2 separate regions of the Homo sapiens genome follow, and region 1 is linked to region 2. Evidence: promoter capture Hi-C in 16 types of primary human blood cells and fetal thymus (Javierre and others, 2016). All regions are on one chromosome and are shown on one strand. The core of a region is centred on a gene start or on the middle of the fragment in contact, and the rest is flanking DNA. Distances in the headings are between cores, read along the strand shown. Region 1 overlaps CD22 (CD22 molecule). Region 2 holds the start of FXYD3 (FXYD domain containing ion transport regulator 3).

What was found. The method cuts DNA at HindIII sites, captures the fragments that hold promoters and counts their contacts. A CHiCAGO score of 5 or more calls a contact.
Region 1: a fragment that was not itself captured here is called in contact with the fragment with the promoter of FXYD3 in region 2 in 7 of 17 cell types (total B cells, naive CD8 T cells, naive B cells and 4 more); the score reaches 9.6 in total B cells.

The regions. Positions count from the first base shown.
Region 1 is chr19:35,333,759-35,340,233 of GRCh38, reverse strand. CD22 (CD22 molecule) reads right to left here. Exons shown (of 14, transcript NM_001771.4): 4 at 3,893-4,198; 5 at 2,213-2,479; 6 at 1,803-2,066. Among named protein-coding and RNA genes, the nearest start is that of CD22, 7.8 kb to the right of the region's middle. RefSeq lists enhancers at 2,632-2,731, 2,772-2,921. The HindIII fragment of the contact is 4,678 bases long and covers 2,882-6,475 here.
Region 2 is chr19:35,110,777-35,117,272 of GRCh38, reverse strand. It overlaps FXYD3 (FXYD domain containing ion transport regulator 3), which reads right to left and starts at 1,450. Exons shown (of 9, transcript NM_005971.4): 1 at 1,314-1,450; 2 at 914-1,009. LOC124904701 (hepatitis A virus cellular receptor 1-like) reads right to left here. Exons shown (of 3, transcript XR_007067238.1): 3 at 3,604-3,926. The HindIII fragment of the contact is 1,620 bases long and covers 823-2,442 here.

The sequences.
Region 1 (6,475 bases), core at 3,971-6,470, 220 kb before region 2:
TTTCAAGAAGGAAATGAGATGACTCCCTTAGAGCAGAGTGTGGCGTGTGGCAAACACTCCACAAACATCACTGTGGCTGCTGTGGTCACGCATCCAGCTGTCTGAGATGCTCAGGATTTGGGCACCCCTGTCCTGTTAGCACATATGACATCTCAGGGTCCAAGGATCGAGCTTATGTGTTCTTTTTGTCCTGTGCTCTACATGGTAACAAGATTCACTGTGTTAAAAGGGTCTTACAATGGAGAGGTAATGAGACAGTTTGCCCCAGTTCTCATTAAAAATTTCAAGATCTCTCAAGACTCAGCCACTGCCTAGGGACGCTAAGTCTCTGTGTCCCTCATGGAGTCCTGGTATCTTGCAGTTAATTATTCTTTTTTTTTGGAGACAGAATCTCACTCTACCCAGGCTAGAGTGCAGTGACATGATCTCAGCTCATTGCAACCTCTGCCTCCTGGGTTCAAGCGATTCTCCTGCCTCAGCCTCCCAGGTAGGTGGATTTCAGGTGCCTGCCACCATGCCCGGCTAATTTTTTGTATTTTTAGTAGAGACAGGGTTTCGCCATGTTGGCCAGGCTGGTCTCGAACTCCTGACCTCAGGTGATCTGCCCACCTTGGCCTCCCAAAGTGCTGGGATTACAGGCGTAAGCCACCATGCCTGGCCAATCCATTCTTTTTTTTGAGACAAGGTCTCACTCAGTCACCCAGGCTGGAGTGCAGCGGCATGATCACAGGCTCACTGCAGCCTCTACTTCCAGGCTCAGGTGATCCTCCCACCTCAGCCTCCTGGGTAGCTGAGACTACAGGCATGCATGACCATGCCAGGCTAATTTTTTTTTGTAGAGATGGGGTTTTACCATGTTGCCCAGGCTGGGCTTGAACTCGTGGCCTCAAGTGAGCTGCCTACCTTGGCCTCCCAAAGTGCTGGGATTACAAGTGTGAGCCACTGTGCCCAGCTCACACCTATAATCCCAGTCCCAGCATTTTCTTTTTCTTTTTGAGACCCAGGTCTTGCTCTGTCACCCAGGCTAGAGTGCAGTAGCAGGAACATAGTTCAGTCTGCAGCCTTCACTTCCTGGGCTCAAGTGATTCTCCCTCCTCAGCCTCCCCAGTAGCTGGGACCACAGGCACGCACCACCATGCTCAGCTAATTTTTGTATTTTTTTGTAGAGATGGTATCTCGCTGTGTGGCCCAGGCTGGTTTCAAACTCCTGGGTTCAAGAGACCCTCCTGCCTCAGCCTCCTAAAGAGCTGGGATTGCAGGCGGGAGCCACCGCACCTGGCCTCATTCATTCAACAAGCATCTACAGGCCGGGTGCGGTGGCTCACGCCTCTAATCCCAGCACTTTGGGAGGCCGAGGCGGGTGGATCACGAGGTCAGGAGATCGAGACCATCCTGGCTAACACGGTGAAACCCCGTCTCTACTAAAAGTACAAATAATTAGCCGGGCGTGGTGGCGGGCGCCTGTCATCCCAGCTACTCAGGAGGCTGAGACAGGAGAATGGCATGAACCCGGGAAGGTGGAGCTTGCAGTGAGCCGAGATTGTGCCACTGCACTCCAGCCTGGGAGACAGAGGGAGACTCCATCTCAAAAAAAACTAAAACACAAAAAAACAAGCATCTACCAAGCACCCTCCATGAGCCAGGCCCTATGCTAGGAGCTGAGACAGCAGTTGTGAACAGGAGACCCTGGCTGCTCCTTGCTCTTGACTCCAGGACCCCGGAATGCCCTGCACCCCATCTGCCTTCCCCGTTCCCTGTGTCCATCTTCTCTCCCTAGAACCAGAGGCTCCGTGGCTACTCACACTGGACATCCAGCTCAGCTCCCGGGCCCCTCTGTCCAGTACCAAGAATGTTTTCTGCCACACAGGAATAAGTCCCAGCGTGCCAGGGGAGGATCTTTGGGATGTGGACTTTCTCCTCTGTCCTTCCCTGCATTTCTTTCCCATTGTGGTACCACGTGTAATTTGTTGGAAGAGGATTGGCCAGTGACATGCAAAGAAACTCGACTTGACTTCCCTCCACAGCCGGTGAGTGGAGGATCTGAACCGTGGAAGGTTCCGGGGCATCTGGAAGAGGGGGCAGAGGCGAGTGGAGGGGTGAGGAGAGCACCCCCAACCTGTGCACACGGCCCCGAGAGCCCCCGTGGCTCCCCTCTCCGGGTCCACCCCTGCTACCTCCCTGCCTGGCCTGTCCCCAGCTCCGAGGGGCTCACACTGCACTTGCAGGAACACTTCTTCCGACCTTCCCGGGCCCACGTCATTGGAGACCTGACAGCAGTACTTCCCACTCTGGTCCTTGGTCACTTCGCGCAGGTTTAGCGTGAATGTATTCTGCTTCTTCAGCGAGGTCCCATCCTTGAGCCAGGATACCGTCGTGTACTCCGGGTTGCTGCTGCTGACCTCGCAGGTCATGGTCACAGAGTCCCCCTCCCTCACTATGGCATCACTGGGAGTGACCTTGATCTCCAACTTCGGGGTGTCTGGAGGAGCAGAGGGGCAGTCGGGGAGGGGGCGGGGAATCCTCAGAGGGTGGAGGGTGTGGAAAGTGCTTTTATTCTGACAAAGCCATGGCCTGCCAGTCCCTTCACCCAGGTGATGGTCACAGCCTCCTAACTCGGCTCTCAGCTTCCCCCTCCCACTTCCTCTACTTCTTGGTCTCCACCAGCAGCACGCAGGGTTCCTAACACCATCTACCAGACCTCGCCAATCCTGCTGGAAACCACGAGCGGGTTCTGTGCTTTGCATAGAATCCCAAACCCTCACCTCAGCCCTCGGGATCCAGAGTCCTGCTCCATCTCCTGCCTCCTGTCCTACCATGTGGCCCTCAGAGGCGGTGAACTTCAGCCTCTGAGGTCCTCCCACCCAGCTGCTGCCTCAAAGCTTTGAACCTGCCCTTCTCTTTCCCTGAAATCCTCCTCTCCCAAATATGTGCCGGCCTCAGCCACTCCCTCCGTTCCAGTCAGCTTAAGTGCTCACCTTCTTTTTTTTTCTTTTTTTGAGATGGAGTCTCACTCGTCACCCAGGTTGGAGTGCAGTGGTGCGATCTCAGCTCACTGCAAGCTCCGCCTCCTGGGTTCATGTCATTCTCCTGCCTTGGCCTCCCAAGTAGCTGGGACTACAGGCGCCTGCCATCATGCCTGGCTAATTTTTTGTATTTTTACTAGAGATGGGGTTTCACCATGTTAGCCAGGATGGTCTCGATCTCCTGACCTTGTGATCCCCCCGCCTCGGCCTTCCAAAGTGCTAGGATTACAGGCGTGAGCCACCGCACCCGGCCTAAGTGCTCACCTTCTTAGAGAGGTCTCTCTCCATCACTCCCCTCTCTCGGCCTTATTTTTTTCCTAACACACATATCACTACCTACAATAGTGTTGTATATTTCTTTGTTAACATTGCTTTGTTCCAGATTCTAATGTCTTGGCTCATGCTCTGTATTTCTTTGGTAATCCATTTGTTGTCTGTCTCTTTCACTGCAGCGCTGGCTCCGCGTGGGGCAAGAGTTTTGCTCACTGCTGCACCCTGCCCACCGCCCCATGCCCCCCATTGGCAGCCGTAATAAGGCCTGGTACCTAGTAGGTTCATGATACGTATTTATTGAATGAATGAGGCACAAGATAATGATGCGAAAAAAATCCCCACCAAGAGGGGAACAAAAAGACCTAACCAGATAATCCCCAATTCATGTCATGGCTTGAGGATGGACCATTTTATTCTGTTAGGCTAGAGCAAATCTTTTTCCCGAAACACCAGGGCTGACAAGGCGGCGTGACCAGGGCTGGAGGATGCCGCCGTCTGTGCAGGCTTCCCCCTGCCCTGGGTGCATGCCCCCTGCGGGGCTGGGGAGAAGGTGACACAGACCTTGCCCTTCCCACAGGCATGCCGGGGAGACTCACGCTTCACGTTCAGCTGCACCGTGTCATTGGAGAGGAACTTCCCATCTGCATCCTGAAGCTGGCAGGTCACAATCTTCCCATGGTGACTCCACTGTGGGGAGAACTTGAGCTCGCTCCGGGTGAAGACAGACTTGATGGTCAAGGAGGTCGAGGTGACAGCAGCCTGCCTCATTGGAACCCCCTCTAGGAGCCACTGCAATTGGATCGGATACCCATAGCAGGAGAAATTCAGCAAGCAGGTCAGAGTGACTTCCTGGGACTCTTGAATTTCTGGAGGGAGCTGGATATGAGGTGGAAAAGGCCTTTCTGCAAAAGAACAGAGCCCGTGCAGGAGCCTGGGGGACTGAGGACGTGAGCGTACACCTGGCTTTAGATGTCCTGTCCCAAATCACCCCTCAGGAACCCCTTGCCACTTCATTCCACCTCTCTCCAGTCCTGCTTTGTTTTTTTGTTGTTATTGTTGTTGTTGTTGTGTTGTTGTTTTTTTGAGATGGAGTTTCCCTCTGTCACCCAGGCTGGAGTGCAGTGGCGCGATCTTGGCTCGCTGTAACCTCTACCTCCCCAGTTCAAGTGATCCTCCTGCCTCAGCCTCCCGAGTAGCTGGGATTACAGGTGCCCACCACCACACCCAGCTAATTTTTCTGTATTTCTAGTAGAGACAGGGTTTCGCCATGTTGGCCAGGCTGGTCTTGAACTCCTGACCTCAAGTGATCCTCCCGCCTTGGCCTCCCAAAGTGCTGGGATTACAGGTGTAAGCCACCACACCCGGCCTCTTTTTTTCTTTAGAGACAGGGTCTTGCTTTGTCACCCAGGCTGGAGTGCAGTGGCGCAATCCTAGCTCACTGTAGCCTCAACCTCCTAGGCTCAAGCAATCCTCTCACCTCAGCCCCCTGAGTAACTGGGACTACAGGCATGTGCCACCACACCTAGCTAGTTTTTTAAACATTTTGTAGAGACAGGGTCTTGCCATGTTACCCAGGCTGGTCTCAAACTCCTGGGCTCAAACGATCCTCCGATCTCAGCCTCCCAAAGTGCTGGGGTTACAGGCGGGAACCACTGCACCCAACGCAGTCCTGCTTTTCTCCACTTTGAATCACTTTTGCTCACCCGAAATCCCCTCTGAAAGGCCTTGACCACACTAAGCCTCCTTGGGAACTGTGATCTACTTTTCTTTCATGCTCATTGCCGGATGTCTGCTTTCTGAATGATTGCAAAGTTCTATTCCCACCACCTCACCACCTCTTTTTTTTTTTTTTTTTTTTTTGAGACAGAGTCTCGCTCTGTCGCCCGGACTGGAGTGTAGTGGCGTGATCTCAGCTCACTGCAAGCTCCACCTTCCGGGTTCACGCCATTCTCCTGCCTCAGCCTCCTGAGTAGCTGGGACTACAGGCGCCTGCCACCACGCCTGGCTAACTTTTTGCATTTTTAGTAGAGACAGGGTTTCACTGTGTTAGTCAGGATGGTCTCGATCTCCTGACCTTGTGATCCGCCTGCCTCGGCCTCCCAAAGTTCTGGGATTACAGGCGTGAGCCACCGTGCCCGGCCTATTCCCACCACCTCTAAGTGAATTTTATCAGTTTAGTTCACGGACTTTTCAGCTTTGACAAACTTGTGTTACTTTCATGGCTTCCTTCAGTATTGCAGCCATCCACGCACCGCATTCCTTTAGTGGAGTGGGTCTGTGTGCACCCAGCCTCAGCTCTCCCCAAGGCTGGACCACCTCCTTCAGACAGCGGGGTCTGAAGTTGCATTGCTCACCCCAAATTTAAGGCTGCTCAGAACTGCCCATCCGGGAAACGGTGTGGAACGGAGTGACCACACTCCCTGTGGCAGGGGCCCCCCACACCTGTGTTTGATGGGTCAAAGCCACCCCTACATGTGCAGTGCTATAACTGAACCTATGTTATAAAAATTATAAGATGTTCGTTTTACTTCTTTTCTTTTCTCTTTGTCCTTTCCTTCCTCCATGCATGATTAGTTACATTTGGTCATTTCAGTAGCAGGTAACCATTAATTCACTCATAATTGTTTAACTTACATCCTGACTCCCTGGCAGCTGCCTGCAAGATAAATGAACTTGTCTCTCTTTCAAAGAACAATGATCCTTAGGTCACACAGACCTCCTTGATGACATCCAGAAATTTGATGAGCCGAGGGGCACAACAGCTTTGACGATCGGGAGGTCACCTCCTGCACACCTACTTTACTCATAAAAGCCCCCACTAACGCTCAAAGTCAGGTCAGATTTGAGAGTTTCTCTCTTCTGTCCCCTTGCTTTGGCTAAATTAAATAATCCTATCTCAGCTTCTAAGCACTGAGGTGTCAGTGTTTGGCTGACTACGCATCGGGAGCTCAAACCTGGCCTTTGGGGTTCAACAACAGTGTCATCTGACCTTGAAGAGCTCATGAGAACTTGCCATGAACATTAACATGCTGGGAGATTTCACTGGAAAATCTAGATTTCCATCGTCTCTTGAAAAATCAGAAGATCAGGCCGGGTGCGGTGACTCATGCCTGTAATCCTAATGCTTTGAGAGGTTGAAGCAGGAGGATTGCTTGAGGCCAGGAGTTCAAGACCAGCCT
Region 2 (6,496 bases), core at 201-2,700:
CTCCTCGCCCCAGCCTCTGCAAAACAACGTCCAGTCCCATGCTTCCGGAGGCTGCAGGGAGCCGGGAGCTGGGTCTGCCCTCACGTTCCCCATTCAGGCTGTTGTCTGAAGAGGCTGTGGGCTGCTCCCGAACTGATGTGGTTGGTGAGCAGGTTAGAGAGGAAGGCAGCCCTGCAGCTGATGCTCTGTCTACCTGCTCTCATCCTTCCTGGCCATGAGGTCCCAAGGCCGGCCTGAGGACTGTTTCCCCCACCTGCCCTCTGCTATCCCCTCTATTCCTCCATACCATGGGAGAATGGTCTCATGTTCAGGGGTGGGTAGAAAGATCCTGCCCGCTGTGTGCTCCTGAAATCTCCCAAGCAACTCCCCATTTAAAGCTTCCCCCAGCAGCTCCATCCTTTTTTCCTGGAGGTCTCCAGAATCCAGATCCCTCAATGTCTGGACACCCCGAGTCCACCCAGCACTCCTTATCCACCCAGATCCCTCAATGTCTGGACACCCCGAGTCCACCCAGCATTCCTCATCCACCCAGATGTCCCCAGTCCATCTACGCACCCCTGGTCCACTTAGATACCCCTACCTACCCAGGCACCCCCTCTCCTCCACCCAGCTATCCCCAACCCAGATATCCCTAATCCATGCAGACACTAGTCTTTCAGACACCCCAACCACACTTATCAGTCCTGCCCTCACCTCAGCTGGTTCAACAAGTCCCTGAGAGGAGAATGGTGGGGAAAGGGACATTAGGGGAAGGGACTTCCGTTTATCTCCTGGCTCCAGAAAAGCATTTCACAAGATTTTAGGCGCTTTAACATAAAAGCTTCTATGGGGCAGGGTCAGGGGGCAGGTAGATACTTCCTAATTTAGGGGCAGAGACAAGGAGGGCTTGGAGGAAGGGGCCCCAGCTGCTCACCTGTGTGGTTCACCAGGCTGAGCAGAGGTTCCGGGAGAAATCGGGCTGCCAGGCGGAGTCCTGCGTTTATCCGAAGCTGCCACGCCCTAAGCAAACCTGGGCAGGTAGAAAACAAGTCAGATGCCCTGAGGCCCAGGGGCTCCATTCCTGCTCTTAAAGAGACAGCTTCACCCCCTCCCCAGCCATGGGCGGCAGGTTGCTCCCTGGGGTCACCAGGACCACAGCAGCCTCAGGTGAGACGGAGAATTGGATGGGCTGGAACTCGGCCCCTGGAATTAAGGGAGGAGCTTTCTCCAATCTCCTGTGCCCAGGAGAGGACCTTGAATGGGGAAGGTTCTGGGGTCTTTAAACGGCAGAGCCTCCAGGGCCATGCAGTGAGATGATGCGTTGGTGTTCCGACCTCACTTCTTTTCCTTAGATGATGTGTTTTGCCTGGTGGAAGGATTGCTGGCAGTTGTGGAGAACTTAAAGTCCCCTTCCAGGCCACATCTTGCCGCTGGTACAATTTCAGGATCAGCAGAAGATGCTAGCGTGACCAAAGTCAGGAGATGGGGCAGGGGTGGATATGAGGGAGCGGCTGGAACAGCAGGGAGGGGTCAGGGTGGGGACTCTGGGACCTTAGTCCTGGTCATAACCTGCTCCCTGCCCTGGGGAGAATGAGAACTGTCTGCCAGGCACCAGGCTGCAGTTTCCTAGCCAGGCTCTTTCCGTGGGTGCTGGGAGCCAGACGCCTGGGTCTACAGAGTGGGTGCTGGTGGGGGCGGCTGCCTCCTAGTCCACATAAGGCCCCCAGCACTGTACAAGCCTCCCTCCCCCTTTCCTCCCCTGTCTCCTGCTCCTCCTCCTCCAGGCATTCCTTCCGGATGGGGTCTGTGCAGGCTCCCCCATGGTCCCAGTTGGGGGTGCCCCCTCCCCTCAATTCCGCCTTCTTAGACAGAGGGACTTTTGTCTGGGGGCTGGATGGAGAACAAGGATCCTTTGAGCGGTTGGCGGAGGATTGGGGTCACGGGGAGGGGTAGGGCCAGGAAAGGGGTAGCTCTGCCCTGGACACCAGCTGGACTCCAGGCGACCCCAACACCACCGTGGGGGCGGGGAGGAGGGCTGCAGGGCCTGGCCAGGGAGAAGCAGCTGCTGGGAGTGTGGAGCACAGGACAGGAAAAGGGGGTTTGGGTCAAGGCTCTTCCGGAAACTGGCCTGCTGGGGGCAGAGAGAAGGACCCCCCACTTGTCATCGCTGAGGGATCGGGGAGGGCAATGTTCGCCCAGCGCTACACCCCTTCTCTATGTGGTTCCCTGGGGCAAGTTGTCAAGCCCAGGTCCTAGACAAGGGTAAGGCTCCCTCCTACCACTCTTAAGGCGGGGCCAGTTCCCATAAGGAAGCCGGGCGGGGGGACCTCGGGGTAGGGCTCTAAGCAACAGGTCCAGGAGGAGATAGAAACAGGAAGGGGAGGCCCGGAGGCCAACTCAGTATAGCTAAGGGGGGTCTTTGTGTCTGGGCGGATAGCGTCTCTTCCCTAGACCCTTGAAGCTTGTGTCTGGGACGACCCCTTGGTGGTCTTGGGAGTGGAATGGTGTCTCCCTCTGCTGGGAAGCCTGGGAACTGCAGGCATCCGAGAGCGAGTAGGGGCGTGTACAGGGTGGCTGGGAAGGGCGGGGGGTGCTCTGCCCTTCACCGGAACGGGGTGAACTGGAGAACTGTTGTCTAAAAATCTTGGAGGAACACCCCTGCCCGTGGTTAGATACAGAAGTATTTCCCAGACAGCTTGCTAAGGGGAAAAAAAACAAGGTATTGGGAAACCGTGCAGTGTGCTACCATTTGTGAGCGGTAAAATAATGCATATGTATATACTTGTAATGAATAAAATATTTTTGGAGATTGGCATCCATACCCATGGCTTCTGGAGAGGGAAACTGGGAGGCTGGAGGGTGGGGTGGAAGTGAGACTCACTCATTATCACGTGCCCTCTTATATTTTTTGAATTTTGCATCTTGAAAATGTACTACCTTAAAGGGGTTTAATTTAAAAAATTTGGTTCAGATTTAAAAAAAAATTTGCAGGTCAAAATTTCAACCTAAGGGCTGGTTTCAACCTGGGGGACCAGCAATTAGAGACTTCTGACAACCTCTGAATGTTCTGTAGTTTTAAACACCATGATCTTACATTCTGAGGTACAGACGTTTACGGTTTTTACCCAATCCAGGTCAACCATAAATTCTTCCTAGGCTGGACGTGAACATGCTGCGTCCAAGTGTGTGTTGGGCTGGCGCTGGGGCTTGGGTTTATGGTCAGAAGGACTCTGAGACCCTAGTGTGATGAGCACACTGAGTCTTAGGAAGGGCTGTGAGGAGTAGAGTTTGTGCAGTCACTTGCACCCTATTGGGGATTAGGTCTCATTTGGAGTGAGTCTTCTGGGCCAATCTGACTTCAGTTATGTTTTAAATGCATGTAGGTAATATGTTTTATTAATATATTGTATATAATATACATAATAAACATATTTGAAAAAGTTTCTCTCGTTTTGCTTTTGGAATCATTTGGGCCCAAAGAACCTGTTAAGGCTGTGAGTGGCTGTGATTTCTCCATATCCTGGGAATTCTTGCAAAATGAAAAAAACCAAACCTACAGATAGTTTCTGACATCATAAGTTTTTCAGGAACGCTGAATTAAAGCACAGAATCAAAGCCAGAGCATGTTATACCATCCCTGATTCAAACTTTTATTGATTTTGTTTCAATAATTTCGTTGCTCTTTATTCAAGGCTGGGAGCGTTTCTGCAGGCTCCTGGCCCTAGAGAGGGCAGCCTGGAGGCACCCCCAGCCATGAGAGGGGTGCTGGTTGGGTGGGGCCTTGCCTTTGCAGGTAGAGCCTGAGCGGCCAGGCTGACCGGCTGGGAGGTGTGGTCACAGCGATACGCCAAGGTCCCACTTCCTGGGCAAGATGGGGCTAGAGAGGCCGGTGGACAGGGTAATGTGGCTTCCTGGGGCTTTGTGGAACAGCGCTGTGGTCTCAGCACCTGTGGGAGAAGAGTGGGCACTGGCAGGTAACCCTGTCCCACCACCATGGGGATGGTGTGGCTGTGGACGTATCACTGTCCGCCTGGCTTCCAGGAGCCATGTGAGGTGACACAGTGGCCAAGAGTCCACAGGCTCCCTGACACCTGCCTCTGTGCTGCTCTGACGTCATCACTCACCCACAGAAGCTAGAAATGGAGATTTTTATGATGAAATCTCCTGTTTTGTTTTGTTTTTTTTTTGAGATGGAATTTTGCTCTTGTCGCCCAGGCTGAAGTGCAGTGGCACGATCTCAGCTCACTGCAACCTCTGCCTTCCAGGTTCAAGCAATTCTCGTGCCTCAGCCTCTCGAGTAGGTGGGATTACAGGTGTGTGCCACCACGCCCGGCTAATTTTTGTATATTTAGTACAGACGGGGTTTCACCGTGCTGGCCAGGCTGGTTTCCAACTCCTGACCTCAAGTGATCCGCCTGCCTCAGCCTCCCAAAATGCTGGGATTACAGGCATGAGCCACCGAGCCCGGCCTTCCGGATTTTTTTTTTTTAAGGTGAGTTCTTGCTCTGTTGCCCAAGCTGGAGTGTAGTGGTCCAATCATGGCTCACTGCAGCCTCCAACTCCTGGGCTTAAGTGATTCTCCCACCTCAGCCTCCCCTGTAGCTGGGACTACAAATGCACGTCACCACACCTGGCTAATTTTTTAATTTTTTTAGAGACGGGGGTCTCGCTATGTTGCCCAACCTGGTCTTGAACTCTGGGTCTCAAGTGATCCTCCCACCTTGGCTTCCCGAAGCGCAGGGATTATAGGTGCAAGCCACTGCACCCGGCCCTGATTTTTAAATGTTGGTAACTTCGTTTTCTTAACACTTTGTAGACAGAATGAAAAATATCCAGTGGTTGGATAAGGCCCTGGGGCCACCGGTTGGAGACCCCCATCTTACAGACTAGGGAAACTCAGGGGAGGTTCAGGGTTCCCCCTAACCCCTGTTGTCACTCACTCTGCTCCGGCCACCTGGGCCTCCTTGCCGTTCCTGGATCACTCCAGGCATGTTTCTGGCCAAGAGCCCTTGCAATGCCTATTCCCTTGCCTGGCTCTCTTTTCTCCCGCATCTGGACAGCTCAAAGCCATGAGGTTCAAGTGGCTTTCCCCGACCACCATCGCACCTACCCCCTGACCTCTCTATGACCTTTTGACTTCTGTTTGCTTTTTTTTTTTTTTTTTTGTGGTGCTATCTGCCTCCCCTGCTAGCACGTCAGCTCCTCTCAGGGATTTTCATCTGAATTATAGAACAGGGCCTGGTGCATAGTGGGTGGTCACGAAGTATCTGTTAATTACCAGGCTGGGCACCATGGCTCACGCCTGTAATCCCAGCACTCTGGGGGGCCGAGGCTGGAGGATCCTTTGAGTCCAGGAGTTCAAGACCAGCCTGGGCAATATAGAGAGATCTTGTCTCTACAAAAATAAAAATAAAAGTAGGTTTAAAACAATTATAAAAGAAAGGCTTTCTCCACCGCCACCCCCCATCCACGGAGGCCTTGCAGGAGGAGCTGAGGTGGGGGTGCTGAGGGTGGAGCTGCTGATGGGGGCAGGGGGTGTGGAGGAATGAATGTCTTGGCCAGCTTCCCCATCATGTGGGGAGTGGGGGCGGCGTGGTGGGGGTGGGGAGGGCTTGGGCAGATGGCTGGGGGTCCTGGGTGCGGGCAGGAACTACAGGGAAGCAGGAAAGGGCAGGGAACACATTTGGAGCTAGACATCTGGGACAGGGACTTCTGGTTCAAGTGGGAGCCCTGCAGCCCGCCCCCCCCCCCCAGCCTGACTCAGTCCCTAAGAGAAGGATTGCAAACTGGCGGTCCCAGGGTGGAACCCAACTATTGTACCTTTAGTTTTTACAAAGCATTGCAAAAATTAATAATTGCAAACATTTAAACAGCAGGACAAGCTGTGTTTCCAGCATCTCTGGAAAAGTCTGGACTAAAAGACCCCCATTCCCACCTGGAAGCCATTGCTGAGGTGGCAGGTCTGTCTCCCTGGGGTGCCCCAGGCCCCAGCTCTGCCTGGTTTGATGGAGGGAGGGAGGGAGGGAAGGAGGGAGGGAGGGAGGGAGAGAAGGAGACGGGCGCTTGCGGTTGCTCCGGCCCAGACCTGCTCCTGTCACCTCCCATCTCAGACCTGCCTTCCACCTTCAAGGCCATGATTACAGCACAGACTCGACAGATGCAGCTTCTGGGGTGCCTCGGGGCATGGTTGACACAGCAAAGGCCCCAGGACTGTCCTCCGCAGAACAGGAAGAGAGGGCGAATCCGCCTGAAGGATTCAGGAAGAGCTCTGTCCTGTTTTGTGATCTCCCTCCAGAAAAAGGCTAAATATTTATTTATTGGTCAACCAACAACAGAGAAGACTGAGTCTTTTGAAAACGCCTGGACAAGTAAATAGGGACAGGAAAAGTGAGACACAGAAACTCAGAAGAAAATTACATAGATATAAAGAGATAAAGCGAATCAGGCAAAATACTAAGAATTGAGGAAGCTATGTGAAGGGTATTTGAGTGGATTGTACGGGTTACATGACTTTTCT